Regions from separate parts of the Homo sapiens genome. Here region 1 is linked to region 2. The links are contacts of gene promoters, found by promoter capture Hi-C in blood cells and fetal thymus (Javierre and others, 2016). All regions are on one chromosome and are shown on one strand. The core of a region is centred on a gene start or on the middle of the fragment in contact, and the rest is flanking DNA. Distances in the headings are between cores, read along the strand shown. Region 1 holds the start of ETNPPL (ethanolamine-phosphate phospho-lyase). Region 2 holds the start of RRH (retinal pigment epithelium-derived rhodopsin homolog).

Region 1 (3,430 bases), core at 80-2,579, 1.1 Mb after region 2:
TCTACCTTAGGCAATCCAATTCTACTCCTCCTGCAGTGCATGAATATATATTAATAACTTTTTTCAAGAGAAAGATCAGTTGCAAATACTTATCAAATGTGTTGATACATGCAAATTAGGCTTTCCCTGCTGCCCTTTCAAAACACAGAGAGAATAAAATGACCTATCCTTAACCCAATGACTAAGTGTTTGTGTGAACTTGAATAAACCTTCACCTTTCCTGTGCCTCACTGTTCTTATCTACAGAGCAGAGAAGTTAAACCAGATGACTTCTAGTTAAAATAATGTATGATTTAATGATTCAGTTAATTAAGATTCTATTGGGAGGCCGAGGCGGGGGGATCACGAGGTCAGGAGATCGAGACTATCCTGGCTAACATGGTGAAACCCCATCTCTACTAAAAATACAAAAATTAGCCGGGCGTAGTGACGGGCGCCTGTAGTCCCAGCTACTCGGGAGGCTGAGGCAGGAGAATGGCGTGAACCCGGGAGGCGGAGCTTGCAGTGAGCCGAGATTGCGCCACTGCACTCCAGCCTGGGTGACAGAGCCAGACTCCATCCTCAAAAAAAAAAAAAAAAAAAAAAAAAAAAAAAAAGTTTCTACCTGTGCACATATTTAGCTTCAGATATGATCTGTGTGAGAAGACCATCTTGAAGGAAGTCAAGAAATCTAAGAATGAGTCCCGTTTTCAGCATCAAGTGGATATATAATCATTAGAACAGGGAATAACCTCACTTTCCCCGTTCATTAAATGGGGTAACACTCGTGGTCATCTCTCAGGGTTGTTTTGAAGACTGAACAAGATAAGTCATGTGAATGTGTTTTGTAAGTTGTATAGTTAGAGGAATTAGAAGTGTAATCATTGTTAAAGGAGATGTTTGAAACACTGCATATATCATCACTGCCAATGGAGATAACAGGCTGAGTCCGGGTTATTTCTCGTTAGGACGCGTCCTTGTGCTGAGTAAATGGTAGGTTACCTTATCAGACTGCGCAGTGAGTCTTGATCCGGGAAGCGCCTAACTCCTGAATTTTTACCAGAAAATAAAGGACTACACTAAAAAGAAACCAGAAAGAACGTGGGAAGGAGGGAATTCGCAGGCAGAGGAGGAGGAAAAGCAAAGACGAGGCAAAGTTAGGAGAATGAAAGGCGAATTCAGAGGAATGATAGGGGCGGGTAGGGCCGAGCCGGCCTGGCAGGACAGGGTGGTGGCGAATGAGCTGCTAGCCCGGCGACCTGCCCGCGGCCCCGGCGGGGGAGGAGGAGGGGCTTGGCAAAGGGCAACGCCAGAGCCAGACTTAAAAGGGAGATGATCCTAGCTAGTTGACGCCACCGGTGACCTCCGACGCCCCGGGCAAGAGAACGCCAGGAGGGATAACGGGAGGAAGGCCGGCCGGGGCCGCCAAGGCAGTCCCAGGCTCGCGTAGGAGGCGCGCAGACCTTGCACCTTGCACCTTCGCAGCGCCCTGCACCCCGCCACCATGTGCGAGCTGTACAGTAAGCGGGACACTCTGGGGCTGAGGAAGAAGCACATCGGGTAAGGGCACCCTGGCCCGGAAGTAAGTGCAGAGAGGGGGCAATAACGAGTGCAGAAGGTGGAGAGAGAAAGCCGGCTAGGGAACAAACGATGCGCTGCAGCCGCACTCCGTGCCCGCCGCGCCTGTGCACGCGCCCCGCGCGCCTCCACCTGCAGGGGCCGCGCGGACTCCCAGAAACGCTCCTGGAACCCGGAACGCTGGGCTTCCTGCCCGCTCGAAAGTCCCCGGCTCGCTCTGCAGCCGGCGGACTAGCGGGGGCTGCCGGCCGGCTAGAGGGGTTGGTGGATGACGGCCAATAGCCCTAGCAGACACCATTCCAGGGATGGGAGATGGGTGGAAGAAGGATAGCGCTCCGCCACCCCCACACAACTCGAAAGTTTTTGGAAACTGTGAACTGAGAAATATTTTTTCATGATGGCTCCGCAAACAAACCAATTCTGACAATTTTTACTTAAAGTGAGCTTTTTCTTCTTGCATGCTTGGTTAAGTGATGAAGGGTTTATCTAGCCAATAGAAAAACTTGAAACCACCTTCTGTTAGAAAAGCAGAGACTTTATTTAGATCCCTCTTACCCAACTTGCTCTCCCAAGCTGTGTTCTTCCCAGCCTGCTTGTCTTGCCCCCGTCACAAACGACTTAGTAATATAAAGGTGAGTATATAAGACCGACAGGGGCTCTAGCTCTCGTTGGATGTCATATTCCCTGTGTGGACCTCTGTCAAATTAATTGTCTCTTCTATGAAAGTAGGAATAACATTCTACTTCACAGGAGCAAGAAGATGAGATTAATATGTTAGTGTTTTGTGCGTGGTTTTTAAAAAGATACGTGTAAATATAAATGATGATTAATGACCCCGAATACTGTAAAGTCAACCGTCTGCAATATTCACTTGAAATGAACGACTGCAGCCGGGCCAGTGGGCATGAGAGAGCACTTGGGGTTACAAGGAAGAAAACAATCCGCATCCTCTTCGGAGGAATGCTGGACAGTTTCTCAGACTGAAGCTCCTCACCCCAACTGGAGGGGTTTCTGGGTGGTTTGGAAGACTAGTTCCATCTCTCTCAGCCGCTAAGTGGGATCAAAATAATCCAGTTCTTTCCCCATTAATCAATCACTACCCTACTTTTTCTAATCACTCACTGCGTTAGTTTTCAATCTTAGTTAGATTCCGGTAAATGCCTAATGGTTTCTGACATGAGCAGAACAAATTTTCTAAAAGCACGAGTGTAGCCATGGGCTGACTGGATAAAGGAGAATTTTACCTGAAGTCTGACGGGCAAGGTGGAAAGTGTATTAAAAAGGCAATGTGAAGTCTGCAGCTTTCAGCTCACATCCTTAACAAAGTTTTTTTTTGGATTTTAACTTGTAGGTATAAACTAACAGCTGAGTTTGAACCAATAAGAAATTCTTATAAAATACTATTTTCATTTCAGCTGATGATGCTTAAAAAAAATCAATATATAACACAACCTTATGCAATTTTAAAATTTGAGGTTACCTACTGTTTGTAATAATCAAAATTCCTTCTAAACAGTTACATATCAATTTAGTATATTTCTACTACTAGAACTACCTCCAATGTGTGTGAGGGTTTTTTTGTATGTATGCAAAATCACCAAAATAAATAAATATATTTAACTTTAGTTCTTAAATGTTCATAAAGCCAAGATTAGAAGCCTTTGTGAAATTTCTATGTGCTAAAATGTATAATCCAGCCATTCATCCAAATAAAAGTATGGATGACCTTATTATGCTCAAAAAACATATTAAATGCTTAGAAGAATAATTGAATTTCACTATTTAATAATGGAAAATCCATTTGATACTGGACAAGTACCACTCAAAATACATGAAAATGAAAATAATCTATAAAACTTCCTGCGTAGTATTT
Region 2 (3,681 bases), core at 10-2,509:
ATTTCCAGTACTAGAAGTAATACGCTGAATTATAAGGAAGAAACGTAAACAATTATAAACTGGGTATAGGATGGTGTGTTATACTTTTCACTCTACTTTTGAATGTTTGAAAATTTTTATAAAAGTCAATCCAAAAAATAATGAACTCAATATAAGAGTTACTTCTACAACTCGTTAGAGTATAAAGTTGAAAATTAAGTGATTGCTCAATATAAAAGTTACACAATTCAATGATACATTAAAAAGATAAAAAGTTTCTGTCATTCCCCCATCCCTTTTTTTCTGCAAACAATCCTTTACATCAATGAGTGTGTAGGGAGGAAAGGGAAAAAGAAACAAATATTTGTCCAACACCTACTATATGGCATTTATGTGTCACTTAATTTTACTCCTTATAACAATCATGACAGATAACTTATTCTTATCCTTGTTTTACAGATGAGAAAATGGAAGAACAAAAAGGGAAGATACATGCTCACAGTTGCAAATATACTAAAAGATGAAATCCAAAACTCAAGAGTTTTCCAATAAGCATTCTGGAACAAGCTGAATTTTCAGACTCTGTCCTCAATGACAATATACCCTGCTCTGTCTTCTTAGGACTTTTTCTTTCCAGAACCTTTAAGTTCTTAGCTAAATTCTACCACCAAGAACAAAAATATGAGGGTTATGTATAAGAATAGTAAATGACATAAAAATATGTTTTTGCCATGGTGCATACTCTTCTCCAATAAAAACTTTAACAATCCAATAATCAAATACATAGATTTTTATGAAAGAACTATTTATCACATAGAAAACTTTTCTCAGCCCCACTTCACTGCTCTTATTTACCAAAATTCAAAATAACCTGTGGCAATGGCCATCACTAACAATGCTTTCCCTTATTCTTTCACCCACATTATCTTATTTGATCTTTACAGCCCAGAAATAGAGTATCATCATCCTCATTTACCAACGAGCAAGCCAAGTCAGGATAAATGACTTGTCAAGGTTGGCCAATAATATGGAACTTGAAACAATGCATGCCTTATGCTGAAAACTTCTGCCTTTCTTCACCCATTCTAAAGAAAAATAACTTACTTAAATATCCATACCTGCCATAATCAAGTAAGTTGCAACAATATTGTGTTCAGTCTGTGAAAAGACCGAGCCATCTTCATTTTTAGAGTCTGAACTGTTGCCTAAATTATTTCTTAGCATTTTGGAGGGAAGATACCGAAACACCCTTCATAATAAGCCTTCGATAATTATGAACTGCTTTATGAGCTACTGAGGAAAGATTTTTTAGGACCAATCATTTCCACTTAGAGACCTCAAAGAAGGGCCTTTTCATAGAGGCCCTCCCTTAACAAATTTAATTGGGCTAAAGAGGAAAGGACTTTAATTCCCAGAATAAGGGAAAAGCTTATTAGCAAAACAAAAAGAAATACCAAGCACCACACATTTTAACCTATTTGGGCATCAGTCTTCTATCTAAGGAGATTATCAAGCACACACATCCCATTTAACAATAAACAAACTCAGGAAATCAGTATAGGAGCCAGCCTTAGTCCTCTAAAACTATTCGGATTAAGGTCCCTGTTTTCTGTTGACCATTCAAGTCTTTCCATTTCGGCTCCTTTTGTTGTTTTTTTTTTCTTAACAATTTAAATATTAGTGACAAAGAAGTAGTCTCCTTCCTACTTCCAAATCTCACTCTCCTAAAGGTACCAGTATTGTTTGGTGCATATCCTTTCTTAGGCTTTTCTCTGCTTATACACATATTCATACAAGTGTTTCAGGTTTCCTCCACTTTCTTCTTGTAAATAAAAATGAGGGAAAAAAATAAGTACAAATGTATATATATAATGCAACTTGTTTTCCCATAAGGCTGTATTATAATATCCAAGTTAATAAACCCAGAATCTAATAAAGTCTAATTTATTAGTAGCTATGTATTTCATAGCATGGATATAATATGATCAACTCCACCATCCGTTAATTTCCCCTATAGTTTGATATGCACATGAGTAATTAATATTATCTGATGATAGTAATCATTGTATACTTTGCCAGAGTATCTGAATTCAATCACTGATATTGTAAAGTACAGAATAAAAATATTCTGGATTATCACATTACAACCTGAAAACCAACCTGAGCATGTTTTGTTAGAATAATAAGGTATCCCTATTACCTTTTTTCCCATATTCTTTATGCCATTAACATTATTAAAATCTGATTCTCCTCAGTTTCCTAAAATCAGTAAACATTAGAGAAATGCTTAGATGCACCAAAGTTAACAGTGTAAGCATAAAACAGAACCACTAGAGGGCTATATTTACCCACTTAGTTTAATTTTATAAAAATCCTAGAATGGCACAGCAGAAACCTAAGATAATCCTTTTGCTTCAGTTCTCTTGCCTGTGTATAAACTCAAGATGAACAGGTTGATTTATCTGTCCCAAATCTTATAGCTACCAGTACTCACATTTTTATAAATGTAATATTGTTATACCTATACTAGAAAAGCGAATCTCGTCAGTATTGTTTTCAAATGACCCTAGAGCAAAAAACATAATACCCAAGAGGAAATCACTCCCTTTAAAAAGTCTTTGTCTTTTCTTTCATTCAATATGCAAAACAAAACTTAAAATTTTTGAATTTGCTTTGGGTCATACTACCTTCCTTTTCTGTAATAAGTTATACCTAGTTGTAGCATCCATGAAAAATTTTCCAGAAATAATTATTTCTAAGAACTGAAAAATATATAATTTCAGATAGTCAGCTTTCTGCTGCAGATGAAAGTTTTGATATGAGTGAGGTAGGTGCATTTGAAGTTCTTTTTTATGCTTCCTTCATGGGTGATACAGAAAAGCTATATTGGGATAAGGCTTAGAAATACATGTGAATTTGATTCAAAATGAAATGCCTCAAAAAAACCCAGAAACTAGGCCAGGCGCAGTGGCTCACACCTGTAATCCCAGCACTTTGGGAGGCCAAAGCAGGCGGATCACCTGAGGTCAGGAATTCGAGACCAGCCTGACCAACATGGAGAAACCCCATCTCTACTAAAAATACAAAATTAGCCGGGCATGGTGGCGCATGCCTGTAATCCCAGCTACTTGGGAGGCTGAGGCAGGAGAATCGCTTGAACCCGGGAGGTAGAGGTTGCAGTGAGCCGACATTGCACCATTGCACTCCAGCCTGGGCAACAAGAACAAAACTCCGTCTCAAAAAATAATAATAATAAATAAACAAATAAATAAACCCAGAAACTATAAGGAAAAAAAAGGAAAAGATGTGGAAATAAAAGCTTAAAGATGGACAATGAAAAAAAGATATACATAAGCTAAACGGTAAAATTTCCAACTGGTTTGTCTACTGATCTATATGTTATTTCCATTATTGCCATTTTAGATTTATTTTTAATGTTAAAAAAACAAACTGTAGAAATGTTGCGCTATTATTATTTGTCCTTGGGACAATGCCATCACCCTTTGGTGCTTACTAACATCTTTTCCAAACCACGAGCAAAAGCCCTGGCCCTAACACTCCATGAAAATTTCATCACCACAATTCCAAATCAAATAATCTCCTGTCCTAAGCTGTAAAAGCATAACTGCCTATTCCTGTAAAAACTGTAATTTTCAACACATTTGCTCATCATATATATTAATGGCCTATGTATTTATTCAT

Evidence for each region. The method cuts DNA at HindIII sites, captures the fragments that hold promoters and counts their contacts. A CHiCAGO score of 5 or more calls a contact.
Region 1: the fragment with the promoter of ETNPPL here is called in contact with the fragment with the promoter of RRH in region 2 in 2 of 17 cell types (fetal thymus and non-activated CD4 T cells); the score reaches 6.5 in fetal thymus.

What each region holds. Positions count from the first base shown.
Region 1 is chr4:108,760,952-108,764,381 of GRCh38, reverse strand. It overlaps ETNPPL (ethanolamine-phosphate phospho-lyase), which reads left to right and starts at 1,329. Exons shown (of 13, transcript NM_031279.4): 1 at 1,329-1,539. The coding sequence starts at 1,484. The HindIII fragment of the contact is 7,360 bases long and covers 1-3,430 here.
Region 2 is chr4:109,825,550-109,829,230 of GRCh38, reverse strand. RRH (retinal pigment epithelium-derived rhodopsin homolog) reads right to left here and starts at 1,259. Exons shown (of 7, transcript NM_006583.5): 1 at 1,098-1,259. The coding sequence starts at 1,203. The HindIII fragment of the contact is 4,893 bases long and covers 1-1,409 here.